Regions from separate parts of the Homo sapiens genome. Here regions 2, 3, 4, 5, 6 and 7 are each linked to region 1. Evidence: promoter capture Hi-C in 16 types of primary human blood cells and fetal thymus (Javierre and others, 2016). All regions are on one chromosome and are shown on one strand. The core of a region is centred on a gene start or on the middle of the fragment in contact, and the rest is flanking DNA. Distances in the headings are between cores, read along the strand shown. Region 1 holds the start of SLC30A6 (solute carrier family 30 member 6). Region 2 overlaps LOC107985862 (a long non-coding RNA gene). Region 3 overlaps BIRC6 (baculoviral IAP repeat containing 6). Region 4 overlaps BIRC6 (baculoviral IAP repeat containing 6). Region 5 overlaps BIRC6 (baculoviral IAP repeat containing 6). Region 6 has its middle 31 kb from the start of LINC01946. Region 7 overlaps BIRC6 (baculoviral IAP repeat containing 6).

Region 1 (4,243 bases), core at 804-3,303:
CCGCCTCCTGGGTTCAAGCAATTCTCCTGCCTCAGCCTCCCGAGTAGCTGAGATTACAGGTGCCTGCCACCACACCCGGCTAAGTTTTATATTTTTAGTAGAGACGGGGTTTTGCCATGTTGGCCAGGCTGATCTCAAACTCTTGACCTCAAGTGATCTGCCTGCCTCAGCCTCCCAAAGTGCTGGGATTACAGGCATGAGGCACTGTGCCTGGCCTCAAATTCTTAGAATACTGCCTACCACATATTGAATGTTCATTAAATCCTAGGTATAGGACAGGGGTGTTGGCTCATGCCTGTAATGCTAGCATCTTGGGAGGCTGAGGCAGGAGGATCACTTGAGCCCAGGAGTTCCAGACCAGCCTGCGCAACATAGCAAGACCTCTCCTCTACTAAAAAAGATTACTGTGGCTGCAGTGTGGAGAACAGATTGTCGATAGATGATAATACCTACGATTTTATTTATTTTTTACTTCTTATTTATTTTTTTGAGATGAAGTGTTGCACTGTTGCCCAGGCTGGAGAGCAGGGGCACGATCTCGCCTCACTGCAACCTCTGCCTCCCGGGTTCAAGCAATTCTCCTGCCTCAGCCTTCTTAGCAGCTGGGATTACAGGCACCCGCCACTACGCCCAGCTAATTTTTTTTATCTTTAGTACAGACAGGGTTTCACCATGTTGGCCAGGCTGGTCTCAAACTCCTGACCTCGTGATTCGCCCGCCTAGGCCTCCCAAAGTGCTGGGATTACAGACGTGAGCACCACACCTACTCAGTTGTTCTGTATACCATTACATGTTCAGCAACCCTAATCCAACCATCTGAAATTAAAATGCTCCAAAATCAAAACTTTTTGATCATCAACACGATGCCACAGTGGAAAATTCCACACCTGACCGCATGTAAAAAGCTGTAGTCAAAATTTTGTTTGATACACACACAATTTTTAAAATTGCATAAAATTACCCTGAGGCTATGTGCATAAGGTGTATACGAAACATAAATGAATTTCAAGTTTAGCCTCTGGCCCCATCCCCAAGATAAAGAGCCACAATCTGAAACAGTTCTGGTCTTAAGCATTTGGGATGAAGGATACTCAACCTATACCCAGTTTTCTACACGACACTACTTATGAATATCTTTTAAAAATTTCTTTATCCCTACTTGTTTTCTGTCTTCCCTACCAGAATATAATTTTCACGAGACCAGTATCTGACAAACACACGTGCTACATATTCAATCTTTATCGAATGAATTTAATATTTTCCAAGTTTTCTATAATTAACATTACTTCTATATTATTAATTTTATAGAGAATCCAAATAGCATTTTATTAAGTAGACCATTAGTCGGTCCGAGTTCAAATTCTGCTACTACAGCAAACTATATGTAGGACTCAAGGCAAGTTTCTTTTTTTTGAGACGGAGTCTCGCGCTGTCGCCCAGGCTGGAGTGTAGTGGCGCGATCTCGGCTCACTGCAACCTCCGCCTCCTAGGTTCAAGCGATTCTCCTGCCTCAGCCTCCAGAGTAGCTGGGATTACAGGCGCGTGCCACTACGCCCGGCTAATTTTTGCATTTTTAGTAGAGCCGGGGTTTCACCATGTTGGCCAGGCTGGTCTCGAACTCCTGACCTCAAGTGATCCGCCTGCCTCGCCGCCGAAAGTGCTGGGATTACAGGAGTGAACCACCACGCCTGGCGGAGGCAAGTTTCTTAATCTTCTTTCCTCACTTGTAAAACTGGAATACTGTCCATTTTCATAAGGTTAAATCATACAACACAGGTAAAAGCGCTTCAGCACGCAACGAAATTTTTCTAACGTAACGAAAAACTCCTCGTTGCTCCTTGCCTTGCCCTTAACCTCAACGCTTCAGGTCCCGACCAATCTCTCGGAGAGCTCAGAGGGAGCCGCTCTAGCCGCCTTCCGCCACGGAGTGCAGGGACAGCCGGGAAGGGGACGGAAGCCGGAGGCCAGAGCACGCACTTCCTCCCACGCTTTCCTCACAGCCAATCGCCCACTGGTGCCCCACCCCTTCCGTTCTGGGAAAACTCGAGCACCCAGAACGGCTTCCGGCGGGAGCTGTGCAGCTCCTTATCATGGTGAGTTGGCTGTTGGGGTGAGGGTTTCGGCTGTAGCTGATTCGGTTTATCTTATTTGGTCCCGAAGCGACCTTGAAATCCCTCAGCCACCCAGAGGAGGGGTCATTGGAGTTGAAGTCGGGCCCCTTGGCAGGAGCGGCTGTCTCCCAAAATGTTCCCCTTCAGAGTTCTGGTCCCTTTCGGTCCCTCACCTGTTCCGCAGGCGCTCACGATCTAGGCCCCGCTGCAGGCAGAGCTTTCAGCTCCTGGCGAGTTTCTGACTTCCCTCTGCCGAGATTTCTTTAAGGTAATAAAAGTTTTTGCCAGCGTCAACAACTAGGCCACCAACAAAAGATCTGAAAACAAGTCCACAGCAACAACTGTAATAGTGATTCTTAGAGCAGTGGCGATAACGCCAGCGGAAAAAAAAAAAAAAGGTTAGTAATAGGGTTTTAGGGCAGACGTCTCACTCTGCAACTTGGCTTTACTAAATATTAAGTAGCCTGATTACGGCAGCAAATTTCATAAGCGCAGTAACTACAGAAAGTCAAGGTGTTGGTAGGACATTTTATTGCTGCTTTATTTCTGGGTTTGTAGAAACTAATGGAAGACCCAGTAGACGTTATGGTTGTTGGGATATGGTGTTTTCTCTCAAATTTGTTAGAATTAGTCATTCTTTGCCTTTAGAGCTCAAATATATAGCTCTGAACTTTAAAGATAAGCAGTTGGTTGGGATTTGAAGTGTCCAAGTGGCGTGTGCCTTTTGAAAATGCATTTATTAGAAAAATTTATGGAGTACTTATTGATAGCCTACGTATGAGAAAGAGACCACATTTCTGTGCCTAAGCTTTTGTCACTGTACTAAGTTTTTTACTTAAGTGGATATGGTCGGGAAAATGCCTCATTCACACACTTTATGTTTTGTAAATTTTCTGTAATCCTTTTGCACACAGAAAATGGGTAAAAGTTTACACTTTTTGGCTAATGATCAAATAGCCTTCAGTTACGCTCTTCTTCAAAACATTCACCATTGTGAAGCCTGTAGCCAGAGTTATATTTCTAAAATTTGACCACATCACTCCCTTACTCAAATTTTCTCCTTTTTTTTTTTTCTGTAGCACTCAAGATAAAGTCCTGTTTAGCATGGCATACAAAGCCACTCATTATCAAGCTTCTTACTTTTACAGCCTCTTTTTTTGTTGTTGTTTTCGAGACGGAGTTCCACTCTTGTTGCCCAGGCTGGAGTGCAATGGCGCGATCGCGGCTCACCACAACTTCCGCCTCCCGGGTTCAAGCGATTCTCCTGCCTCACCTTCCCGAGCAGCTGGGATTACAGGAATGCGCCACCACGCCTGGCTAATTTTGTATTTTTAGTAGAGACGGGGTTTCTCCATGTTGGTCAGGCTGATCGCGAACTCCTGACCTCAGGTGATCCTCCCGCCTCTGCCTCCCAAAGTGCTGGGATTACAGGCGTGAGCCACCGTGCCAGGCCACAAACTCTTTTTTTTTTTTTTTTTTTAATGCATACATGTATGCAACATCCGTATTTCAGCCACAGTGAATAGCTTGCAAATCATGCTGTATTAATTGAGCCTTTGTACCTAATTTGCATATGCTCTTCCATCCCCAGAATTGTTCTCTGTTCTCTATCGGCTGTCCTTATCAGAATAACCCTTATATATCCTTAATTATTTTTCATGAACCTTTCCCTCATGTTCCAGTATCCTCTTAGTTGCTTCTCCTTTGTGCTCTGGTGGTACCTTGTGCTTTTATATGCACAAACACACACACACACACACCAGTTTTGTTACATAAAGCTGCACAAAACGAATACATACAATAGAAACTTAACTTGCCTATAATACTGATGATTTGAAGGGAGTTGAAGATAAAGGGATAAGAGACTTAAAATTCAGAGGTCTTTCAGATTATACACCTTCATTAACTCACAGCCCTAATTTAAGAAAGTAAAACTTGAATCTCTTGTGTTTTTTACCAGTAACATCTGTAATCCTTACAGACGATGTTAAAGTTGTGTACTTATTTGTCTTTCTCACTTTCTAGACTGTAAGCTCATTGAGAGCAGGACCTATGTATTTCACCCTAATTCCCAGAGCTTTGTAGCGTGCCTGGCCCAGAGGAAGTTTTCAATAAACATCTGTTTTATAAGA
Region 2 (4,243 bases), core at 1,147-3,646, 480 kb before region 1:
TTGCTTTCTGCAAAACATGTCATTCCAGGCTTACCTTATTCATTCTCTGCCCTAGATCTGCAATCAGCCGTCTCCTCAAAGTGTCCTGCAGCTGAGGTTGCCAGCCATTTCAGATACATAATTCATCTTGTCAACAGATAACACAAACTTATCATACTGATAAATACAGTACAATACAGTAAACATATTCTCTCTTTTTTATGATTTTCATAATAACGTTTTCTTTTTTCTAGCTTACTTTATTGTAAGGATACAGTATGTAATACATATAACAGGAAAAGTATTTGTTAATTGACTTTTGATGTTATTGGTAAGGCTTCTGGTCAACACTAGATACTAGAAGTTAAGTTTTGGGAGAGTGAAAAGTTATACACAGATTTTCAACTATGTAGGGGTTGGTGCCCCTAACTCCCATGTTGTTCAAGGCCTAACTGTAACAGCAAATCAAAGCCAGTGGGGTGTGTGCGTGTGTATGTGTTGTGTGTGTGTGCATGTATTAGCAGTCCTTGCTTTGCACCGTAGCACGGGACCCTAAAAGTGACTGTGCATGCTGAAACCCTGTAAAGTAATTTTAATTATCAATGGAGAAATCACAATTGTTCTGTGACCTTTAAAATTTTTTTGTGAAGACATTAAAAACTATCTTACTGTTGGTTATGAATATATAGGAAAATGGTGAGGGAAAACAGTAAAACTAATATTTATTTAGTACACTGTAATTTAAAACCTTAGTAATATTGAGAATTGTCTTATTTCTTTGAAAAAACCACTTATCAAGCACAGTTGGAATAGTGCTTGTCTTCTTCACGTCACATAATTTAGGATATAGAGTGAGATTCTGTTTAATGCGTTGGTGAAGGTAATGAAGTGGCCTCATTGACTGGGGTGATACCTGAGGTTCATTGTCTCATGCCAAGAAAATCAAGGATGTGAACACACAAGGAGCAAGATTAAAATCAGAAGTTTAATAGGCAAAAGAGAGGAGCTCTATGAAGCAGAGAGGGGTCCCAAAAAAATGGGTTGCTGGATCCGTGGCAAAATGCAGGGGGGTTTTATAGAAGCCCGGTGAGGAGGTGGTGCCTGATTTACATTGGGCAAAAAAGATTGGTTGGACTAGATGTGCCATTTATGTAAGGTGTGAAAAACTGGTTAAGGCTAGGTGTGCTGTTTGCATAGGGCACGAAAAGCTGGCTGTCCCCACCCTAATCTTTTATTATGCAATTGGATCCTATGCCTGCTGGTGCCATGTTGCCTGTTTCTTTATTGTACATGTGGTAACAAACAAAGGGAAGATGGAGCATCCATGTTGGATATGTCTGTCCTCCAGGCAGCCCTTTTCTATTGGCACAGCTTCCAGCATTCACCCATGCAAGCTTCCACCTTGCTTATCTATATTTGCAGCTCAATTTTTCAGACTGCTCTTTGTTAAAAAAGAAACGATTTGGGGGGATGCTTTTTGTTTAAAAGGAAGCCCTGCTGAGGACTCTTTTACCTTCACTATCTGCCTAAATAATTCCTTTCTATCTCCTCTATCATATTTCCCCTCTCAGGAGTGGTAACCCTAACTGCTGTTAGGGGGTGTTGGATGACGACTCTTTCTGGCTACTTCCTGCTGAAAAGGGGTGTTGTGTGGGGAAAAACAGCTAGGGCTCCTCCTGGGGTCAATCTAAGCATCCTCAGAAGAAAGGTGTGTCCATTCATGGTTCCATCTGCAGCACCATTTGGAGTTTAATAACTTCTAAGTGAGAAGAGATAAATTTTACAAGAAGATTTAGAATATAGGGCTCGAATATGAGTATTAAGATTACCATTATTAGTGGGGGTAGTATAGGCCATAACCATGACAATAGGGTTTGACAGCTGTTAGCCATTCCGATTGGTTGTAATACTAGTTTGCCTCCACCAGATGTCGCTGTACTTTACCAGAAGCGTTAATATAAAAGCAATGTTTTTCTTAGGATAAGTGACATTGGATTGGGTGGCTAGAGTAACTTTAGTGTTAATTTTGGCTAAATCTTTCCTGTAATTATTATATAATTACTTGTTACAAACATGATAATTAGGCAGAATATTACAGCAATTAAAATTTTGCAACCAGAATTCCACATTGCAGGTGCCACAGTGTATAGTCCTACTGCAAATAGTAGAGTGAGTATAGCAGTTCCCACAAGAGTGGCATAATACATAATTTCCATCTAAAATTTTACTGACTAAGATATAGAATTTCCCTTGGGGGGTTTATGAATTTACAAATTTAATCCCATGGATAATCAAAATCTTCCTGCAAGTATGCACCAAAAAGAAGTTCTAATATCTGACAGTGAATTTTGAGAGGAAATGTAGAAATGACCAGAAGTATCTGATAAGTTAGGGGTGAGACTTAGTAGGATGAGTAACCCTTACTCATTTACTTATCTTTTCTGATTTTCAGCTTAAGATCTCCTATTTCTTTGCATTGATATCAGGGACATTCCTCTAGGCTGTCAGCAGTTGCTCCCTCAGCCTTCCAGGCTTTGACTTGAATGTGATGTATCCAGGAGTCAATTTTTGTAACTTTTACCGCCAAGGGGGTTGAAAGAAGAAAAGTGTAGGGCTCTTCCCAGCTTGGGCTTAGGGAAGGAGAGAGAGAAGGGAGAGCTTTCAGCAATACAAAATCTCCTGGGTTAAATAAAGGTGGCCTTGTTTCTTGGGGTTGGGCTTCTGCTAGTTGTGTTAATTCCTGTTGAAAGGGAGCCAGAGAGGTTACATGCTTAACCAATTCAGAGGTTTCCTGGTCTAATAAAAAATCACTGGTAAGGAAAGGCCATCCATACAGCATCTCGAAAGGGCTTAGACCTAACTTTGAAGGGGTATTTCCTACCCACAATAAAGCCATGGGAAGACGAGTGACCCAAGGAAGGTGAGTTTATTGGGACAGTTTTCTGAGGTGTCTTTTGATAATATCATTTGTCTTCTCTACCTTTCCTGAGGACTGGGATCTCCAAGCACAATGGAGATGATACTGTATGCCTAGTGCCTTTGAGATCCCCTGTGTGACGGCTGCCCTAAATGAGGGGCCATTGCCACTTTGGAGGTATTTAGGTAGACCAAAGTGGGGAGTTATTTCATTAACTAACACTTTTATTCTCAGACGACTTTTCTGTATAGCATGGAAATGCTTCTACCCAGTTAGTGAAAGTATCTACCCATACCAGGAGGTATTGAATGTCCTTCATCTTTGGCATGTGGGTAAAATCTATCTGTCAGTCTTCCCCTGGATAGCTTCCCATCCTTTGGATTTAAGGAGGAAGGAGCTGCCTGTTGAGGTGATTATTTTTAAGACAGACTTCACAAGCATTAACATATTTGACTATTCTTAATAAGTTCTCCCCTGTAAACAATCTCTGGGCACACTGATAAGTTTTATCCTTTCCCAAGTGAAAAGCTTGGTAGAGGAGAGGGTCTTAAGGACTTTCTATTGACTACAGGCTGGCAAGTGGAGTTTGCCATCCTCTGACTGTAGCTACCCTGAGGGCTGGAAAGTGTACCCTCAAGAAATGGCCATTCTATTTCTGGAGGGGAGTACTGGGGCTTAATTTCTCTTACAGAGCCTTCCCAGATTAGAGAGGTTTTGAGTGTGTTAAGAACCTGAGGCTTAATTGCTGCTGACTTGGCTGCCTGATCAGCTAACTTTTTTCCTTCAGCTATTTCATCTGTTCCCCCTGATGTCCCTTACAATGCATCACTGCTGTCTCTTGTGGAAGGAAAACAGAGGATAATAACCTGTTAATTTCCTGATGGTATTTTTTTTTTTTTTTTTTTTTTTTTTTTTTTTTGAGACGGAGTCTCGTTCTGTCGCCCAGGCGGGAGTGCTGTGGCGCGATCTCCACTCACTGCAAGCTCCGCCTTCCGGGTTCACGCCATTCTCCTGCCTCAGCCTCCCGAGTAGCTGGGACTACAGGCGCCCGCCACTGCGCCCGGCTAATTTTTTGTATTTTTAGTAGAGACGGGGTTTCACCGTGGTCTCGATCCCCTGACCTCGTGATCCGCCCGCCTCGGCCTCCCAAAGTGCTAGGATTACAGGCGTGAGCCACCGCGCCCGGCCCCTGATGGTATTTTATAGAGAGCCCATTAGCTGTAAAGAAGTGCCTTTCCTTCCAGATGGCAGCATGAGCATGAAGGACTAAGAAAGCATACTTGGAGTCAGTGCCAATGTTAGTTACTTTTCCCTTGCTTAATTTGAGTGCTCTTGTAAGAGCTATCA
Region 3 (4,243 bases), core at 778-3,277, 400 kb after region 1:
GAGGCGGAGGTTGCAGTGAGCCGAGATCACGCCACTGCACTCCAGCCTGGGCAACAGGGTGAGACTTCATCTCAAAAAAATAATGACAACAATAATAATAAATCCGATATAAATAACACATGTCAGGTTCCAGACATAGGCATAGATTGTCATATGCATTAATATAGAATTTGACTTAAAGAAAAGCATACTTACGTAACTAATGGTTGTCAAGAAAAATACAGAAATACAAAAAACTTGATATTTTTAGTTTAAAATGAAGAAATTTGATATCTTGAGATATTTTTTAAAGTACAGTAATGAAATTTAAAGTTCTTTTTAAAATTTTAAAGATTTTTGTAAAATAAACACACAATTTTATCTCTCACATTTTTTGGACTATTCCCAGTCTCGTGTGCCAGTGCTTATTATTACCTTGTTTTGCTAGCTTTTGCCTTCATACTCCTTGATATGAAGAGAATATCTTCTTCTATTTCCATAATGTAAGATTCCCAGTTGGCCTCTCCTAATGCTAACTCAATAGAGTAAAATATATACCAGTTAAATAAGAGGGAATAGCATGTTTCATTTATTTCAGAGGAGCTGTGTTGTTTTCTCTATGCCCTTTTGTTTACATGTGAATATAATGTAACTATATATTTTTTCTTTTTTCTTCTTCAGTCATAGTCTTCTCTGCCACCCGGGCTGGAGTGCAGTGGTGTGCTCATAGGGCACTGCAGCCTTCAATTCTTAGGCTCAAACATCCTCCTGATTAGCTGGGACTACAGGCACCTGCCACCATGCCCAGCTAAGTTTTAAAATTTTTTGTAGAAATAGGTTCTCATTATGTTGCCCAGGCTAGTTTCAAAACTCCTGGCCTTAAGCAATCCTCTTGTCTCAGCCTCCTGAGTCACTGGGATTGCATACATAAGCCACTGTGCCCGACTTTTTTTTTTTTATGCAACATCTCGTGCTTTATAAATTGACCTGCAAGTAGGCCGGGGGCGGTGGCTCACACCTGTAATCCCAGCACTTTGGGAGGCCGAGGCGGGTGGATCACGAGGTCAGGAGGTCGAGACCAGCCTGGCCAACATAGTGAAACCCCATCTCTACTAAAAATACAAAAATTAGCCGGGCGTGGTGGCACGTGCCTGTAGTCCCAGCTACTTGGGAGGCTGAGGCTGGAGAGTAACTTGTACCCGGGAGACAGAGGTTGCAGTGAGCCGAGACCATGCCATTGCACTGCAGCCTGGGTGACGGAGTGAGACTACATCTCAAAAAAAAAAAAATTGACCTCCAAGTAACATACTTTTTTTTTTTTTTCTTTTTTCTTTTTTTGAGATGGAGTCTAGCTCTGTTGCCCAGGCTGGAGGACAGTGGCACGATCTTGGCTCACTGCAACCTCCACTTCCCAAGCTCAAGTGATTCTCCTGCCTCAGCGACCTGAGTAGCTGGGTCTACAGGCGTGTCAGCACGCCTGGTTAATTTTTGTATTTTTAGTAGAGGCTGGGTTTCACCATGTTAACCAGGCAGGTCTGCAACTTCTGACCTCAAATGATCTGCCCACCTCGGCCTCCCAAATATCTGGGATTACAGGCATGAGCCACTGTGCCCGCTCATGAGTGATATACTTTCTAATTAGTATTCATTAATTATGAAATTTGAAATCGTTCGATTTCATTTTATTTTGATTTTTTTTTAGTTGTAAATTATATTCAAGGTTTTTTTTGAACCTAAAGTTTTTTTTAAAGTTTCTGGGATTATCTTTTATGTTTATATGAAGAAATAATGCTTTAATCATGTATATATATATATATATTTATTTATTTATTTCTAGATTTTGCTGGGGGCAGTGCTCACGCCTATAATCCCAGCGCTTTGGGAGGCTGAGGCGGGCGGATCACGAGGTCAGGAGTTCGAGACCAGCCTGGCCAACATGGTGAAACCCCGTCTTTACTAAAAATACAAAAACTAGCCAGGCGTGGTGGTGGGCCCCTGTAATCGCAGCTACTCGGGAGGCTGAGGCAGGAGAATTGGTTGAACCCGGGAGGTGAAGGTTGCAGTGAGCCGAGATCATGCCATTGCACTCCAGCCTGAGTGACAGAGTGAGACTCCAACTTAAAAAAAAATAAAATTATTATTATTTCTAGATTTTAACAATTGGAATTATCAGTTATATTTGTGCTTGCAAATTTGTGGGATCTCTTTTTCCCCTTCTCTTCCTTATTGAACTTTAGCATGCTAGACTGTCTTCATTATTCATGTATGGAGAAGAAGATTCTCATTTTGTGGTTTTGGTTGTTCTTAATACCTTCATAATAATTTAATTTTTAAAACATAAACATATCTTGTATTACTTGTATTCTTTTATAATTTTATCTAAATTGCTGTTGAGTATTTTTAGGTTCACAGAAAATTGAGCAGATAGTACAGAGTTCCCATATATGCAGTTCCTACTCACAGTTTACTTATTCATATTTTGCATTAGTGTAGTACATATAATTGATGAACTAATAGTGGTATGTTATTTTTAACTAAATTTATAGTTGAAATTCGAGTTCGCTCTTTATGTTCTACAGTTGTGTGGGTTTTGACAAATGCGCAATTTTATGTATTCCACCATGACAGGATCACACAGAAGAGTTTACTGCCCTAAGAAATTCTATTAATCCTGCATCCCTTCCTAATCCCCAGACCTCTGGTAACCACTGTTCTTTGTACTGTCTCCATAGTTGTGCCTTTTTCAGAATGTCATATAGTTGTAATCATAAGATCTAGCCTTTTAGATTGGCTTCTTTCATTTAATAATATACATTTAAGTTTTGTCCATGTGTTTTCATGGCTTGGTGGCTGCTTCCTTTTTTATCGCTGAAAAATATTCCATTGTATGAACATGTAAGTGTTTATTCATTCACCTTTTGAAGAACATCTTGATTGCTTCCTTTTTTTGGCATTTATGAATAGATCTGCTATAAACATTCACATACAGATTTTTATTCCCAGTTTTGTTTCACTGATCTATTTGTTTATTCTTTCGTGAGTACCACATTGTCTTAATTGTCGCAGCATTATAGTCAGGTGGTCAAGTCATATAGTGTCAGTCCTCTGACTTTGTTCTTCAATGTTGTGCTGGCTATGCTACGTATTTTGCCTTTCCATAGAAACTTAATCATTTGATTGATAGCCACAAAATAACTTGCTGGGGTTTTGGTTGGAACAATGTGTCCTCTGTTCTGTTTCTCTTTGTATGTTACATGAAGAGGGTTGAGAACGGTGAAATACTATGTGCACTACTTTGCTAAATGAGTTTATAAAGCAGTGCAAATGGTAATCTTTGGGTACCTGGCTATATTTTTATCAGTATAAATTCTGATTTTTCAAATATTTCGATGTAGACAGGGAAATCATTCAAAACTGTGGATTCCATTCCAGCAGATGTAGCTAAAATGGGGGGGCAGGAGAAAACTGTGGAATAGGGAAGGTTTTTTCTAAGGCTTCATTATTGTGCCAGTCTCAAGTTGAAAAGAGGCTACATGATTGTACATTCAAGTCTTATGTTTTCCTATATTTGAAAAATAAAAACATTTATAAAATATATGCAATGTTTACTGGGTGCTTTTCCTCGTATTAGTGTTTTAAAGCAATTGAAGAAAATAAATATTTCAGTATAAAAAGGAGCAAATGTATATGAATAAGTACTTAAGAGAAAAAAATTTTAGTGACAGCTTTAATGGTTGATAATTCGGTACCCTTCAGTTCACCCATTTAAAGTATACAATTCATTGATTTTTATTATAGTCACAAATGTGTACAACTGTTACCAAAGTGAATTTGATAATTTTTTTTTTTCACCTCATAAAGAACCCTGTACCCTTGGCCAGGCACATTTGCTCATGCCTGTAATCCCAGCACTTTGGGAGGCCCAGGTGGGCGGATCACTTGAGGTCAGGAGTTCGAGACCAGCCTGGCCAACATGGTGAACCTTGTCTCTACTAAAAATAAAAAAATGAGCCGAGTGTGGTGGTGGGCGCCTGTAATCCCAGCTACTTGGGAGGCTAAGACAGGAGAATCGCTTGAACCCGGGAGGCGGAGGTTGCAGTGAGCTGAGACTGTGCCATTGCACTCCAGCCTGGGCAACAAGAGTGAAACTCTGTCTCAAAAAACAAAAAACAAACAAACCCTGTACCCTTTAGTTATCATCTTCCATCCCCTCATCTTCTCTAGCACTAAGCGGCTGATAATCTACTTTCTATCCTTATATAGA
Region 4 (4,243 bases), core at 1,139-3,638, 380 kb after region 1:
TACCCCTATTTTTTAATGTATCACAAAGTTGAATTATAGACCACCTGATAAGAAATAAAGAGGATCATTAAATCACTATGAAAGTATTAATTCAGAATAAGTCATAACAATCCTAAATTTGTGTGTATTTAATAGCTTCAAAGTACATGAATCAGAAATTTATAGAACTGAAGGAAGAATTAGATAAATCTACATTTCAGTAATAGATTATAACATTTATCTCTCAGTAAATGAAACAAAGTGAGGAAGTAGGAGTTGTTGGGGGAAACGCCCAAAACTTCTAGATGGACGTAACCAATATTTATGGAACAAAGCATTTACCAACTACAGGATGTACTTCTTTCCAAAGAAAGATAGACAGTATGCTGGCCTATACAAAAAGTCTCAGTAAATTTAAAAACATTAAAATCAAACCCAGTATGTTCTGTGACCACATCAGAATTAAATTGGAAACCAATAGCGGTAAGATCTAGAAAACCTCAAATATGTGTAACCTAAGCAGTATAGTTTTTAGTAACACATGGATGAAAGAAGAAATCACAATAGATACTACAAGATATTTCAAAACGATAATGCCAACATGACATGGGATATAGCTACAGCAGTCTATAGAGAGATTTTATAGCTTTAAATGCATATAATTAAAAGAGGAGATTTATCAGTGGTGTACACTGCCACCTCAAGAAACTAGAAAAACAGGAGTACAATTAACCAAAAATCAGAAGCAAGGAATTACTACAGTAAGAGCCAGAATCAATTAAATATAAAACAAAAAAATCAAAGAGAAACAAGAAAGTCGTACATTTTGTCTTTTGAGACTTCTAGTAAAATTGATAAACTATGAAAAATTTTCAAGAAAAAGGGAAAACCACACAAATTGGACATCCACAAATGATAGCAAGCACATTATTATAATTTCTATAGAATAAAATAAGGTACTATTATAACCAACTTTATGCCAACATATTTGATACTTAGATATAATGGATAAATTCCTTGAAAAACACAACCAGAATCAGTAGAAGAAGTGCATGTATACGTTTGTATGTATACACTTATGCAGAATTGTAATCAAACATACAGAATTTTTAGTCTGTTTTCATTTTTAAGTACCATGGTTATGATTTTGAAATCACATTAATCCCATGTTTCTCCAATTTAAACTGAAACTCATTTTTTGTTCTTAAATTGGAGCATTTGACTACTTTAGAAAGTATCATGTCTTCTCAGTTTGCTGTGACATATAATGAGTATCAGAATTAAAGACATCACATGGTTGGAATATCGTAATTCCTAAAAGCCTGTGATATAAATCATATCCTGTTCATCTAATTTAAAATAATTTATTTGTGTTTTAGACATTATTCAAAGTGAGCACGTCCTTATTAGAGTCTTTTCTTTGGGAAATTGAGCTGTTTTATCCTAGTATATCAGAAATAAAATTTCTTTGTTGTTAATTGAGCAAAAAGCATGTTTTCATATACTTTTCAGTTTTGACTTTCAAAATGTGAAATAATACAAGTGAATATAATACTTTAAAAAATTAAATCCACTTAATATTAATACCCTAAAACAGTTCTGTTTGAATCGTTATACTTGTGACATTTATGTAAATATCAGTTTATATTCTACTGTTTGGTGCTTTTGCTGAACCTGTATTTTGAAATTAATCTTTGTTGATGCCTAAGCCTGTGGTGGTCTCATTTGTATAGCTCTAGCATACTTGCTGTATATTTAACTATACCTTATTGTGTGTATTAGTCTTAATGTTGACTAGCATTTTTATTTCCAGTTGTTAGCTATAATGAAAAAAGTTGTGAAGAATTGTATACATATCTAATATAAGACTTAAAAATTTGTATCTGTATAATGGGTGATGGGAAATATATGATAGTGGTTTTAATTTGCTCTTCTGATTTTCGTGAAGTTGAGGGTCTTTCACTTGTTAAAGAATTTGAATGCTATAAATTGAGAGCTCTTTGATTTTGCTGTCTTTTTGCTTTCATTGTATTTGTTTTGTTTTGTGGCATCATATGAGAATAGTCCTTTAAGAAAACAATTATGATGAGGTAAAGTTCTGCTTCTGTAACAATGTTCTATTATATAGGTACTTTTATATGAAACTATCTTCTGTGCAGCATAAAATAATAAATATAGAGGATCTTTAAAAATTTGCCTATAAAGGGTTTCAAAATGGTTTAGAAGTGAAAAGTGCCTCAAATTCCTATGTTCTTACAATTAGGCTATTTCATATTGTCATTCTGGCCTAAGCTTCAGTAGTGAAAATAAGCTGGCATCAAAATTGCACCTGTTTTATTCAGTGTACAGATGCATGTAGTGTAGCCGTAGATCAACTTAAGACTGATCTAAGCTGTAGATCAGCTTAAGACTTCTACATATATATGTAAAAGAAGGAAGAAATAGTGAACTAATCACAGAGTTACCTCACCATTCATTTAAAAATCACCCCACAGAGTTACCTATCAGTCTACTAAAGTCATACAGGAAGCTTAGGAATCATCCTGATGTTTGAAGTGAATAGTGAGATAACTCTGTGATTAGCTCACTATTCATTTAATTATATGTTTGAGTGTGGAACTTCAAATTAGTATTTAGTGAAGTGCATTATTCATGGTCAAGCAAGATAAGTAGAGTATTTCTAAATGCAATGAGAAGTTTGTAGGGCAACCATGCTCAGAATTGGAGTTTTTCTTTGAATTATTAAGATTAAATTATAGACATGATGCTCCTTTATTCCTAAGTTCAGAAAACTTCTCTTGGATAACCATATACAGTTATACAAATCAGAAGTTCACACTGACTCTGTACTATAAACTGCAAATCTTATTCAGCTTTTGCCTGTCCTTCTAATGTTCTTTAGGGCCAAAGAAAAATCAATTTTCTTTTGCGTGGTTTGAGGATACTGGTAGTTCAGGATCATATATTGCATTTTGTTGTCTTGTAGTCTTGCATATGTAACAATTCTGCTATCTTTATTTATCTTTCATGGCCTTCATGGCCTTGACAGTTTTGAAGAATACATGCTAGAAATTATGTCTATATATATATATATATTTACACATGTATACATACATGTATTTTCTAGGTATGTTTGCTGATAGGACCCAGAAGCAGACTCCCCCTAGTGATATATGCATATATATCTCCCATATTGTCATTTTAAAAATTTTCTACTAAAGGAAATCAGGGCTCCTTGGAGAAATTCTAGTACTGAGGAAGAGTAGGTAGAACATGAGCCTAGAATGTTTTGCTGTGCTAGAAAGCAAGGAAGTGCTCAAAGAACGATGGGGGACAAGTTATAAGGAAGTAGGATCCTGCTTTAATGGCGTCTCAGAGACAAAATCTTATTCCCCTCAGGCATCAAAATTAATAATGATAGTAACAGTGTAATAAAGTTAGAATCTATACTGATAAAAATTAATGGATAAGAAGAGAATATTTTTCCTTATAGCTTGGTGCCAACTAATAAATGTAGAAAGAATGACAGAATTAGAAAGTTCTCCTTTTCTTAACCACTTTAGTAATAATTGTTTCAGGCACAATTATAAAAATGCTAAGACTGATCAAAAGTTTGGTGAGAAATAAGATGTTTAAATAGTCTCAAGAATCTGCATATAGATACTTAACTAATTATAAAGGTGGAATTAATAACTAATGTAGAGACACTTGGCAGACACTGCCATACTTCTGCTGTCATGTGCGTCTTGATGTTTGGAAGCTTGTTTTTATTTTTATTTATTTTTTTGAGATAGTTTTGTTGCCCAGGCTGGAGTGCGGTGGTGTGATCTTGGCTCACTGTGCCTTCCACCTCCTGGGTTCAAGTGTTTCTCCTGCCTCAGCCTCCTGAGTAGCTGGGACTACAGGTGTGCACCACCACACCTGGCTAATTTCTGTATTTTTAGTAGAGACGGTGTTTCACCGTGTTGGCCAGGCTGGTCTCGAGTTCCTGACCTCAAGTAATCCACCTGCCTCAGCCTCCCAAAGTGCTGGGATAACAGGCGTGAGCCACTGCGCCCGGCTGGAAGCTTGTTTTTTAAAGCAAGCAGCTTTATTAATCCTTATAATCCTATATTTTAAAGAGATCATTTAAAGTTAAGTCTTTACTTTGAATCTGATGTTGAAAATGTGAATGGCCAAGCCAACACTTTTCTTTTTCTTTAGGTGAGTGCTCCAGTTGTAACATCTACCACTCAGGAAAAGCCGAAGGATAGCGATCAGTTTG
Region 5 (4,243 bases), core at 1,190-3,689, 340 kb after region 1:
TTGGAGAAAACAATTTTTTTCTATGTGTTTGCAAGATTAGACTGATATAGCTTAATTACTTGTGGCATCCACACTCCTTAGATAAAAAACAGATAATATAAAGGTAGAAGGAAAATATGCTAGTACACGGTGTTTTAGGAGGTCAAAAATAACTATATTAAAAGGCAAATATAAGTCAATGTAAGACTTAGGCTACCTCTAAAATTGGAAAGAGATTGCTTTTATTTGGAAAGCAAAGGAGTTTGGTCATAAGTGGTGGCTTTTGAAGTTCAGCTGGATTTTTCATATGGGAATTGAAACAGGAAGCATATTATGAAGGGGGAACCCCTGTGAAAAATTAATTGGTTTAGGTGTTCCCTACTTAAGTGTACTTGATTACAAAATTTGGTTTTATTATTGGATTAGAGCAGAAGTTGAAAATATGTTGTGATACAGTGGAAATAACAGTCTTTAGAATCAAACATGGACTTGAATCTAAGGTGTGACATTTCTTGTGGGAGCGTGGATTACTTAATCTCTTTTTGCTATGTCTGCTTGTGTAAAATGTAGATAATACTTTCCTCAAAAGGTTTTGAAGTAGAAATTTAAAAATTAACTTGACTGTCTAGTAATCAGTGTAAAGCTGGCATGTAATTCCTTCTTTTTTTACCACTGAAATTAAAAATAAAACCAAATTTCAAAAGTTTTAGTTGACATATTTATTAGATGGGGTTCCATGTTAAGCTAGAAATAAATAATTTTCTGGTAGTTCATTGGGGACTCCTTAAATTTCAGCAAGAATTGATTTTTTAAAAAAAATCCTGTGGATATTTGGTTTAATTTGAAAAGGAGGCTGGGCGCAGTGGGTCACACCTGTAATCCCAGCACTTTGGGAGGCTGCGGCAGGTGAATCACTTGAGGACAGGAGTTCAAGACCAGCCTGGCTAACATGGCAAAACCCTGTCTCTACCAAAAGTACAAAAATTACCTAGATGTAGTGGCACCTACCTGTAGTTCCAACTACTCTGGAGGCTACGGCAGGAGAATCACTTGAACCTGGGAGTTGGAGGTTGCAGTGAGCTAAGATCGTGCCACTGCACTCACTCCAGCCTGGGCAACAGAGCAAGACTCTATCTCAGGAAAACAAAACAAAACAAACAAAAAAAAATTTCTAAACTCAGCTGTGAGGTTAAACTCAATGTTTAAAAAAATCACAATCTAGTAGTAATAGAATAATTGGTAGATAAACAAGTTTTATTACATTTTTCCCCAAATTATTTAAAATAGTAAACCATAGCATATTAATCAAAGGTAGTTTTGTATTATTTGTGATAATTTTGAGTAAAATAGAAATGATGACATAATTACCTATTTGGCTGGTTTTATTCATAGGGAGCATCAGGTACATGTGCATCACACATCTTTGGTTCCTCTTTTTTTAGGTGAATATTAGACTGTTTAAGTATAATTTTTATTGTAGATCAAATATTTTGTGTTGAAAAATAGCTCCAACATTAATTATGGTGAAAGTCATTGTCAAACTATATTTTGTTGTATAAGTTTTCCTTTTACAAGTTCATGATGAATACAACTGTGAAAGCTGCTATTTTACTGGGATTTTAATAAACTGTTCAATCTAGTATACTTTGTCTTTTGTGATGATTCAGTTTTCTCTTTTTATAGCCTGCCCTTCCTCAGTGTCTGTTGAAGTAAGTGCAGATGGGGTAAATATGCTACCTTTGTCCACTCCTGTTGTCACAAGTGGCCTCACCTACATAAAAATTCAGCTTGTAAAAGCCGAAGTAGCTTCTGCTGTCTGCCTTAGACTACATCGTCCACGGGATGCCAGCACATTAGGCCTTTCACAAATTAAATTATTGGGGCTCACTGCTTTTGGTACCACCTCTTCTGCAACAGTTAATAATCCATTCCTTCCATCTGAAGATCAGGTATCCAAAACAAGGTATGTTTTGTTTGTCCTTTTTTTTTTTTTTTTTTTTTTTTTTTGGCATGGTTGGGAGATAGGGGACTTAATTATTTTGTGGGTTTTTTCTTTTTTAGGTCTTAGGAAGGTCTTTGTTCCATAGGTATCTGTATAATACAATTTTATTAGGTGTAATAGAGACAGTTTTGTGGAAACAGAATGCTGACACTGATTAAAATTAAGGTGTATATATGTTTAGTCTTTGAGATGATCTGTATGCTACATGTAGGTGTACATTGTAATTTTCTGGCTTGTAATTTTTTGTATCATACTCTGTTTCGGGAATTTGCAAATGCCTATGACCAGCCTATGACATCTGAACCATACCAACTGACCTTAGAAACAGCGACCTAGTCTTATATGGTAATTCCTAAATGTTAGTTAACAGAAGGATTATGTCTGAACCAAACTAACAAGGACCCAAATATATTTTTTAATCAACATTTTTCTGATAAATTTTGACAGCTGGATGTTTTATAGATGGATTTTATTGAAAGTTCTGCCTGATAAAAATGAATTTAAGGCCTGGCTCAGTGGCTCACACCTGTAATCCCAGCACTTGGGGAGGCCAAGGCGGGCGGATCACGAGGTCAGGAGATCGAAACCATCCTAGCTAACAGGGCGAAACCCCATCACTACTAAAAATACAAAAAATTAGCCGGGCATGGCGGTGTGCTGCTTGGGAGGCTGAGGCAGGAGAATCGCTTGGACCCAGGAGGTGGAGGTTGCAGTGAGCCACGATTCCACCACTGCACTCCAGCCTGGGTGAGAGTGAACTCTGTCTTTAAAAAAAAAAAAGAATTTAGGATTTCTATTTTCAAGGTGCTAAGACTACACAGTTTTAGAAGTCTATGATAGTAATCAGTTTATCAGTATATATAATTGCATGTAAAAGAAAGTTTCTGGATGATTGCCTAAAAAAGCAAACCCATGGTGTCTAAGTGCTATGAATACAAGTACTTTTGTATGTGATTTATCTTTCTGTTTGTTTTGAGACAGAGTCTCACCCTGTCGCCCAGGATGGAGTGCAGTGGTGCAGTCTAGACTCACTGCAACTTCTGCCTCCCGAGTTCAAATGATTCTCCTGCCCCACCTTCCCAAGTAGCTGGGATTACAGGCGCCCACCACCATGCCCAACTAATCTTTGTATTTTTAGTAGATAAGGGGTTTCACCAAGTTGGCCAGGATGGTCTCGAACTCCTGACCTTGTCATCCACCTGCCTCGGCCTCCCAAAGTGCTGAGATTACAGGTGTTAGCCACCGTGCCTGGCCATGATTTATCTTATAGGGGAAACTTACTGTCTGTTTACTTAATTTGCAGCATTCTAAAAAAACATGTCTTAGATTGGTTAATGCTGTTTATGAAACACAACATGCTGATCTTTAAAAAGTTATGTTCTACCCCGAAGTGATTTGAGCGACTTATATTGATCATACAAGTCATTTTGTATTTTCAGTATTGGATGGTTACGGTTATTACATCATTGCCTTACTCACATAAGTGATCTAGAAGGAATGATGGCAAGTGCAGCTGCACCTACTGCTAATCTGCTGCAGACTTGTGCGGCCTTATTGATGTCACCTTACTGTGGAATGCATTCACCCAACATCGAGGTTGTGCTTGTAAAGATAGGACTGCAGTCTACTAGAATTGGCCTGAAGCTCATAGACATTCTCCTGAGAAATTGTGCAGCATCAGGCAGTGATCCTACAGGTGATAATTAACTTTGATATTTAAATGTTTACATATCTGTAAAGTAACAGCAGTTGAACTGTGCGATCTTCGTGCTTAACTCTGTTTTGGGAATTATTTTTTCTTTTAGTTTATGTTTATCTCTCCTCTCTTCTCTGATGGAGTCTCACTCTGTTGCCCAGGCTGGAGTGCAGTGGCGCAATCTTGGCTCACTACAACCTCCACCTCCCTAGTAGCTGGGATTACAGGCATCTGCCACCACACCCGGCTAATTTTTGTATTTTTAGTAGAGATGGGGTTTCTCCATATTGATCAGGCTGGTTTTGAACTCCTGACCTCAGGTGATCCACCCACCTTGGCCTCCCAGAGTGCTGGGATTACACGTGTGAACCACTGCACCCAGCCTAGTTTCATTATTTTTAGAGTTTGTTCTGTGTTGTTGGAATTTATGGAAGCCTCATTTTTAATGAATAACTTAATTCAATTAAGTAAATCTTCCCATGGTTAACTTGCTTATTTAGCAAACTTTTTCTTTGGATTCTTTGTTGCAAGATTTGAATAGTCCTTTACTTTTTGGAAGACTAAAT
Region 6 (4,243 bases), core at 774-3,273, 330 kb before region 1:
CCTTTTTCTATTACAGTTTGAAGGATACTACAGCCACACTTCTCTATCTTCCATTCTTTTATTGGTATTATTATTATTTTAAAGACAGGGGACTTGCTCTGTCACCCAAGCTGGACTGGAGTGACGCAACCATAGCTCACTGTAACTTTGAACTCCTGGGCTCAAGTGATCTCCTGCTTCAGCCTCCCAAGTGGCTGGAACTACAGGCACATGCCACCACACTGGCTCTCATTCTCTTTCATTCTGATGTCTCCTCTATGCATCTCAAATGTTGCCTCTCTTCCCACATTCAACTTCCCCTCAGAGGAAGAATATGATAAGGTCATTTAGTCCCTATTCTATATGGAGAGTCCCTATTAGGTGTCTTTTTCCTCAGGTACCTAATCCTCACTCATTCATCCTGGCCAAGGTCAAAACTCATAATCCACAATCCATAAAGAACTTCCCATTTTTCTCAAAAGGGGAGAGAGGGAAGAACCAGAAAGATTAACAGAAGCATAGAATTATATTGTTTATTGGCACATTTAGGATAATTTAGTGTCTAATTACCTTTAAGAAAAAGACAATGAGAGCCTGGGGAACATAGTGAGATCCTGTCTCTGCAAAAAAATAAAAAAATTAGCCAGGCATGGTGTCACACACCTATAGTCCCAGCTACTGAAGAGGCTGAAGTAGGAGAGAGAGAGAGAGAGAGAGAGAGAGAGGGAGGGAGGGAGGGAGAGAGAGAGAGAACAATGCGGCAATGAGGACAGAGAGGTTAAGTAACATGTTCCAGGTCACACAGGAATTGGCAGAATATTGACCAGGACCAGGGTCTCATCACTCCATATCCACCCACAATGCCAGCCACCCGATAAACCAGTAGCTTTCATATCTTTTAAAACCACGACTCAGAGTAAGAAACATATTTTACATTAGAACATAGTGCACGCGTGCACACACACACACACACACACACACACATATCCCTCACTACACATGTGCGTATAAATAGGGTGTATGTATATGTGTATAGAAAGTGCCTTATAAATTATAAGCTCTTTACATGTGGTAGCTCATTTAATCCTCACAATATCCTGTAAGGTTATTAATATCTCGATTTTACAAATGAGTAACTTGAAGCACTTAGTGACTTGTCCAAAGACAAGTAACCAGACCAGGATTTGAATACAGGCCCTGTGGCTCCAGAACCCATGCCCTTAGTCACTTCATACACTGTCTCTCATGTTTTGCATATGGACTAATATGTTTATGTATATACATGTGTGTGTATTGATGCATAAAATACTTTACTTTGTGTGGTGCACTCTATTTTCTATTTTATTGCACTTTTCAAAATTTACTGCAAACCACTAATTTTATATATAACCCATATTTTTAAAACACTTGAAAAACACTGCTATACTAACCAGGATAGATTTCCTTTTTAGATTTTCTTTTTAGAAAAGAAGGATGCAAAGTTTAAAGACAGCTATAAATTGGTTATTAACTAAAAGGAAGAAAGCTCCAAGTTTCTGTCTCATAGGAAGACAGTTGTCTATCACTTCAGAGAAAAGATGGAGAAATTATTCTTGTATAGTATTAGTAATATCTCTGCAACTCAGACATGGAAAAACCATTCTCTAAACCTCAAGTTCACCATAATAGTGCAGCTATCACATTTATTATTCATTTGAAGTTATTTTTGAAGTTTTTTTTTTTATTATACTTTAAGTTCTAAGATACATGTGCAAAACGTGCAGGTTTGTTACATAGGTATACATGTGCCATGGTGGTTTGTGGCACCCATCAACCCATCATCTACATTAGGTATTTCTCCTAATGCTATCCCTCCCCTTGTCCCCCATGCCCTGACAGACCCCCGTGTGTGATGTTTCCCTCCCTGTGTCCATGTGTTCTCATTGTTCAAGTCCCACTTGTGAGTAAGAACATGTGGTGTTTGGTTTTCTGTTCTTGTTTTAGTTTGCTGAGAATGATGGTTTCCACCTTCATCCATGTCCCTGCAAAGGACATGAACTCATTCTTCTTTATGGCGGTGTAGTATTCCATGGTGTATAAGTGCCACATTTTCTTTATCCAGTCTATCATTGATGGGCATTTGGGTTGGTTCCAAGTCTTTGCTATTGTGGATAGTGCTCCAATAAACATATATGGGCATGTGTCTTTATAGTAGCATGATATATAGTCCTTCGGATATATACCCAGTAATGGGATTGCTGGGTCAAATGCTATTTCTAGTTCTAGATCCTTGAGGAATCTCCACACTGTCTTCCACAATGGTTGAACTAATTTACACTCCCACCAACAGTGTAAAAGCGTTCCTATTTCTCCACATCCTCTCCAGCATCTGTTAGTTTCCTGAGTTTTTAATGATCGCCGTTCTAACTGGCATGAGATGGTATCTCATTGTGGTTTTCATTTGCATTTCTCTAATGACCAGTGATGATGAGCTTTTTTTCATGTTTGTGGGCAACATAAATGTCTTCTTTTGAAAAGTGTCTGTTCATATCCTTCACCCACTTTTTGATGGAGTTGTTTTCTTCTTGTAAATTTGTTTAAGCTCCTTGTAGATACCGGATATTAGCCCTTTGTCAGATGGGTAGATTGCAAACTTTATTATGTAAATTTTATAATCTACATGATAGAATTTATATCAGTCTGATTTAGCCCATGATTACACTATAAACTCACTGAATAGATTCTACTGGTATAGACATCTTTTTATGTTATGGTGTCTACATCATCATTTATATCTACTACTGCCACTAACATTAGCAATAATAGTTATTATAGTTATTATAGTAGTTATATTATACAATTATATTATAATAGTTATTATTATACACATGTATGTATATCTATCTCTACATGTATGAAGGTAAGTCTTAGTTGCCTATAAAGGTCTGGTTTTGTCCTTGCCCAAGAGATTTTCATAAGTGCAACCCAAAAATAGACCATGCAAGTTAACACTATCTTTCTGATACTCTCAGTAGGCATTTATAGAGCTGCGTCTAAAGGTTGAATATCCTTTATCTGAAATGTTTGGGACCAGACATGTTTCAAATTTTGAATTTCTTTCAGATTATGGAATATTTGCATAGACATAATGAGATATCCTGGGGATGGGATCCAAGACTAAACATAAAATTCATTCATGTTTTATATATACCTAATACATATAACCTGAAGGTAATTTTATATAATATTCTTAATAATTTTGTGCATGAAACAAAGTTTAGACTGCTTTTTGACTGTGACCTGTCACATGAGGTCTGGTGTGGAATTTCCTACTTGTGGTGTCACGTCTTTGCTCAAACACTTTTCAGATTTTGGAGCATTTCAATTTTTGGATTAAGGATTGTCAACTTTACTATTGCTTATGTCACTGAAGTAAAACTTTAAAATTGTTAAAACTCCCCTTTCAATTTCTTGAGTCGGCCTGCAATCAAACCTTTGTAATTAAACCCTCAAAGAACCTGTTGAAATTATTCCAGACTAGTTATTCTAAACCAGTTTTTACTCTCCTTTTCAAATGTCTAGTACATAATGGATTCTCAATGAATGTGATAGAGATATAACAGTTTAGTTCACATGCAAAATCATGAGAAAACCTATGAAAAACTTAAGGTCTATACCCAAAGAATGCTATATCAAGTATTATCCCACTCACACCAAATATTCAGCTATTAAATGATTGATAGTCTGTGTTAAGGAAGTTTAGAGGCTTTTTTTCATATTCACTCTAAGATTATCACTGTATACTATGAAATACATAGGATTGGCTGGGCACAGTGGTTCACGCCTGTAATCTCAGCACTTTGGGAGGTCAAGGCGGGTGGATCACTTGAGGCCAGGAGTTCAAGACTAGCCTGGCCAACATGATGAAACCCTGTCTCTACTAAAAAAAAAAATAGAAAAATTAGCTGGGCATGGTGGCATACAACTGTAATCCTAGCTACTTGGGAGGCTGTGACACGAGAATTCCTTGAATCTGGGAGGCAGAGGTTACAGTGAGCCAAGATCGCACCACTACACTCCATCCTAGGCTATAGAGACTCTGTCTCAAAAAAAAAAAAAAAAAAAAAAAAAGAAAGAAAAAAGAAATACATAGGATTGTGTTACTACACTGTGGATTAATCCCATTTTGGGATTGGGTCATAACCAGTATTTAAACAAGCTCAATCAGTTCATTCTAAGTTTCATTTAAGAGCAAATTATCTTTTCAAAAAATTGAGGCTTCAGA
Region 7 (4,243 bases), core at 494-2,993, 300 kb after region 1:
GTCCTAGTTCCCAAATGCACAGGAAATTTTGTGTTAAACATTTAAAGTGTATATAGCAAAGCAATGATCCATTTATATCGAGTCCAGTTTTGATTTAATTTCATCTTTAAGTATGATCAATTTAATCATGTTTATCTTCATAATATATGTCCATGTGGTATTCTGCCACAATTTAGGTAGGCAGGATTAGTCTATATATGTTGCTTTTACTTCTTTTGCAGAAAGCAAAGCTGGAAGCCAAGTTACATCAGACAACAGCTGCAGCAGCTGCAGCAGCATCAGCAGTAGGTCCTGTTCACAACTCTGTGCCTTCCAACCCAGTGGCTGCCCCTGGATTCTTCATTCATCCATCTGATGTTATTCCACCCACTCCAAAAACAACACCTCTTTTTATGACTCCACCACTCACTCCACCCAATGAAGCAGTTTCCGTTGTGATTAATGCCGAACTTGCACAGCTTTTCCCAGGCTCAGTCATTGATCCCCCAGCAGTCAATCTTGCTGCACATAACAAAAATTCCAACAAGTCCAGAATGGTAAATTATGTTTTAAATAGGTGTTGGCTTAGACATTTAAAAATATCTTGAAATATACTCTAACTTTAGAAGGCAAAATTTTTAATACCAACTAGATGTATCAAGTTATTTTCTTTTATAAAATATTACAGTACATACATTAAGAGAAGAAACTTATTAATTTGCTATTATGGTTAGTAGTTTTTATAGAACTATAGTAATATCAATATAAAGTTAGATTTTTTTTTTTTCCCTGCTCTAGAATCCACTTGGTTCTGGTCTAGCCCTTGCAATTTCTCATGCTTCACATTTTCTTCAACCTCCGCCTCACCAGTCCATTATTATAGAGCGAATGCATTCAGGTAATCTTTTACTTTCTTAAATTTTTTTTTTTTTTTTTTTGCTTAGTCTGCCGGCCTTTTAAAGACTCATTATTCTTCAGTTCGATTTTTTTTTTTTTTTTTTTTGCAAATCGCGTTTCCTCTTGGGTTAAGTACATTTTATCAAGAATAAGCACTTACATGTTCAAGCTTTGTGCTCACCAAATTGCATAAAGAGTGCTGTTGAGTAATGGATTTGATCTATATATGAATCTTGCCTGCTGATACATTATTGACATAAATAATTTATTGTAGTTGGTCAAATCACCATTATACTAGAAATTACACTCAAAATATTCCTAAAACTAGCCTTCTTATAGTAGAACTCTTTCTTGAGAAGAGCAAACAGAACTACTGCTTACTGTAATAACTGGATAAGAATAATAACATATCCTAGGCTCTGAATAGTTTGAATGTTACCTGAGTTTGTCTTCTGCTTATATGCTACAGAACTGACATTGGGATAGATGCTTTCAATCACAACATATTTGTGAATAAACTCTAGGCAACTTTTCTCTTAAAACAGTTGGTTTTAACTACCACCAACATTTTTGTGCTTTAGCAGCAGTAGAATTCAACAAAATCCTCAGGGAAATAACATGGTTATAGTATACACTGTAGCATGTATCATTATATGAAGAATTAAATAGTATTTGCGTTCTTGCAATGTGGTTGTTTCCTCTTTGTAAGAGGGAGTTTGAAAGCTAAAATAAAAGTCTTACAGTATTTTCTGCCCAACTAATCATTCATTGGTAACAACATTAGTGTTGATGACATTTAGAGTGGAAATTTGTTATTCTGAAGTCTTATGGGAGATGAGCAGTTGTTTACACTGTAGTTTGTTTTTTTATACATAGCAATGACTGTAGTACATAAGCCTCCTGAGGAGGATAACTATGTTCTTTCTTTTTTTTTAATAATTTTTCTTGTTAGGGAAGTATTAGTAACTGCCTTGTTTTCTTTTAAACTAGCTCTGTCGAGAATAGCACTATTCCTAGAAGTTTAATTTAGTTGTTTTCCTTCACTATAAAATGTAGCTGGTAAGATTACTAGCTGACCCACCCCAAAACAATAAGGAAGAAAAAGAATTATGACATTATTAATGATCTGCCTTCTGTTTTTTAATTGAACTTATTCTTGTAATGTGGGTGAAATGAGGGATGTAAATCTGCTTTTTCTTTACCTATCTCATCTGGCATTGAGCTGAAGAGACTGGGATATGTCTATACTGGGAAAAAGCATTGTTTGAGATCCATTAGAGGACCTTCCCAAGGCCTTTTTCAGTGGTATTTTGATTATATATGATTGTAGTCCTGCTTTCACTTTGGATCTAAACCCCAATGAATGCAATATGCAACTTCACAGGAAGTTAAGCAGGGCTTAAGGAAACTAAATCAAATAATACTATTTGGTATTTAAATGCATCTAGTTGTGAAATTAAGAAAAAAAGTTGCCAATGGCTGAAAGAAGAGCAGATTGATCCTTTACAAAATTAACTAATATACTGCATTTGCTGATTTAATTTTTTAAAACTCTGATGTTTTAAAGAAGCTTGTTTGTATAGTGGTTGATTGCCTTAACTGTAACAGTAGCAGTCTTACTGTTGTTTTTTTGTTTTGTTTTGGTTTTGGTTTTTGTTTTTTAAAGAGACGGGTGGCTAGGTGCGGTGGCTCATGCCTGTAATCCCAGCGCTTTGGGAGGCCGAGGCGGGTGGATCACGAGGTCAGGAGATTAAGACCATCCTGGCTAGCTTGGTGAAACCCTGTCTCTACTAAAACTACAAAAAATTAGCCGGGCATGGCAGCGGGCGCCTGTAGTGCCAGCTACTTGGGATGCTGAGGCAGGAGAAAGGCGTGAACCCAGGAGGCGGAGCTTGCAGTGAGCAGAGATCGCGCCACTGCACTCCAGCCTGGGCGACAGATCGAGACTCCGTCTCAAAAAAAAAAAAAAAAAAGAGGGGTTTCGCTGTATTGCCCAGTGTGGAGTATAGTGGCTATTCACAGGTGCAGTAGCAGTCTAGTGTATTGCAGCCTGGAGCTCCTCGGCTCAAGCAATTCTCCTGTCTCAGGTCCCCCAGTAGCTGGGACTAGAGGCACTTGCCACTGTGCCCAGCTACTCTTAATTTTCTACTTACGTCTTGGGGTTCAAAACTAACACAGACTGGGATTTCAGAAAATTTTTGAATCAATTGACAAGGCCATTTTTACATATTTACTTTTCCTCTTATTTATAGTTTAGTGAGTTGCTTTCATATTTTAAGATGAGTGCTCCAAATTATTTTTGAGTGTATCATTTGGTTAATTGATATATTTTTGGTCAACTGTTTCTTCTTTCTCTCATAGGAGCAAGAAGATTTGTGACCTTGGATTTTGGGAGGCCTATATTGTTGACTGATGTATTGATTCCCACTTGTGGAGACTTGGCCTCTTTGTCAATTGACATTTGGACATTAGGAGAAGAGGTGGATGGAAGGCGGTTGGTAGTGGCAACTGATATAAGCACTCATTCACTAATTCTTCATGACTTAATACCACCTCCCGTGTGCAGATTCATGAAGGTAAAGAACTTTAAGAAAGTAAATTGATACGCTTTCTATGTTTCTGACAAGTTATGAAAAATGAATATATAATTAAAAAATATAACTATCTTTTTAAATACATTGCTCAGATTTTTATTGTGGCAGATGTGTATATATGTATATTTATAATTTTTCATTTCAGATCACTGTTATTGGACGTTACGGGAGTACAAATGCCAGAGCCAAAATCCCATTAGGATTTTACTATGGTCATACCTACATCTTGCCTTGGGAAAGTGAACTGAAGTTAATGCATGATCCTCTAAAGGGAGAGGGAGAATCTGCAAACCAGCCAGAAATTGACCAGCATTTAGCAATGATGGTTGCTTTGCAGGAGGATATACAGTGCAGGTTAGTACAGAGTGCAAATTTTAATGTTATTGAAACTTTGTATTTTATATAATGTCTTGCTTATAATTCTGTCAAGAAATGTCTTTTCATAGGTGTACAGATAAGAGAGCAAGAGGAAGTAGGAGATTAGCACGTTACAATAACACTTAATGCGTGAAAATATTGTGATTAATTAATGGGCTCCATTTATTAGTACCTATCAAGTGGGTAATTCTTTTTAATGGTTGTATGTTAACAGGTTTAAGAGATTTAATTCTTAGTATTTGTACATGTACATAAAGAGGACATTACAAGAATTATTTTGTTCAATCTTTTTTTACTTTAGGTATAACTTGGCTTGTCATCGTCTGGAAACCCTTTTGCAAAGTATTGATCTTCCTCCTCTAAACAGTGCTAACAATGCACAGTACTTTTTACGA

What was found. The method cuts DNA at HindIII sites, captures the fragments that hold promoters and counts their contacts. A CHiCAGO score of 5 or more calls a contact.
Region 2: a contact is called between a fragment that was not itself captured here and the fragment with the promoter of SLC30A6 in region 1, in 1 of 17 cell types (erythroblasts). The highest score is 6.4, in erythroblasts.
Region 3: a fragment that was not itself captured here is called in contact with the fragment with the promoter of SLC30A6 in region 1 in 1 of 17 cell types (monocytes); the score reaches 5.1 in monocytes.
Region 4: a contact is called between a fragment that was not itself captured here and the fragment with the promoter of SLC30A6 in region 1, in 1 of 17 cell types (total CD8 T cells). The highest score is 5.4, in total CD8 T cells.
Region 5: a fragment that was not itself captured here is called in contact with the fragment with the promoter of SLC30A6 in region 1 in 1 of 17 cell types (neutrophils); the score reaches 6.1 in neutrophils.
Region 6: a fragment that was not itself captured here is called in contact with the fragment with the promoter of SLC30A6 in region 1 in 1 of 17 cell types (total CD4 T cells); the score reaches 5.2 in total CD4 T cells.
Region 7: a contact is called between a fragment that was not itself captured here and the fragment with the promoter of SLC30A6 in region 1, in 1 of 17 cell types (non-activated CD4 T cells). The highest score is 5.8, in non-activated CD4 T cells.

What each region holds. Positions count from the first base shown.
Region 1 is chr2:32,163,811-32,168,053 of GRCh38, forward strand. SLC30A6 (solute carrier family 30 member 6) reads left to right here and starts at 2,054. Exons shown (of 14, transcript NM_017964.5): 1 at 2,054-2,093. The coding sequence starts at 2,091. It overlaps SLC30A6-DT (SLC30A6 divergent transcript), which reads right to left and starts at 1,929. Exons shown (of 1, transcript NR_185886.1): 1 at 1,231-1,929. RefSeq lists an enhancer at 3,374-3,890. The HindIII fragment of the contact is 4,145 bases long and covers 1-2,917 here.
Region 2 is chr2:31,686,613-31,690,855 of GRCh38, forward strand. It overlaps LOC107985862 (a long non-coding RNA gene), which reads right to left. Exons shown (of 6, transcript XR_001739388.1): 3 at 35-126. Among named protein-coding and RNA genes, the nearest start is that of SRD5A2, 110 kb to the left of the region's middle. The HindIII fragment of the contact is 2,051 bases long and covers 1,372-3,422 here.
Region 3 is chr2:32,559,943-32,564,185 of GRCh38, forward strand. The region is part of intron 65 of BIRC6 (baculoviral IAP repeat containing 6); the gene reads left to right. The region is part of intron 1 of BIRC6-AS2 (BIRC6 antisense RNA 2); the gene reads right to left. Among named protein-coding and RNA genes, the nearest start is that of BIRC6-AS2, 13 kb to the right of the region's middle. The HindIII fragment of the contact is 6,417 bases long and covers 1-4,243 here.
Region 4 is chr2:32,539,059-32,543,301 of GRCh38, forward strand. It overlaps BIRC6 (baculoviral IAP repeat containing 6), which reads left to right. Exons shown (of 74, transcript NM_016252.4): 62 at 4,183-4,243. Among named protein-coding and RNA genes, the nearest start is that of MIR558, 9.0 kb to the left of the region's middle. The HindIII fragment of the contact is 238 bases long and covers 2,270-2,507 here.
Region 5 is chr2:32,506,318-32,510,560 of GRCh38, forward strand. BIRC6 (baculoviral IAP repeat containing 6) reads left to right here. Exons shown (of 74, transcript NM_016252.4): 51 at 1,663-1,942; 52 at 3,421-3,677; 53 at 4,209-4,243. Among named protein-coding and RNA genes, the nearest start is that of MIR558, 24 kb to the right of the region's middle. The HindIII fragment of the contact is 6,562 bases long and covers 1-4,243 here.
Region 6 is chr2:31,832,693-31,836,935 of GRCh38, forward strand. No RefSeq gene overlaps it. Among named protein-coding and RNA genes, the nearest start is that of LINC01946, 31 kb to the left of the region's middle. The HindIII fragment of the contact is 6,628 bases long and covers 1-4,243 here.
Region 7 is chr2:32,464,288-32,468,530 of GRCh38, forward strand. BIRC6 (baculoviral IAP repeat containing 6) reads left to right here. Exons shown (of 74, transcript NM_016252.4): 25 at 222-536; 26 at 778-877; 27 at 3,238-3,452; 28 at 3,616-3,824; 29 at 4,150-4,243. Among named protein-coding and RNA genes, the nearest start is that of MIR558, 66 kb to the right of the region's middle. The HindIII fragment of the contact is 1,401 bases long and covers 1,044-2,444 here.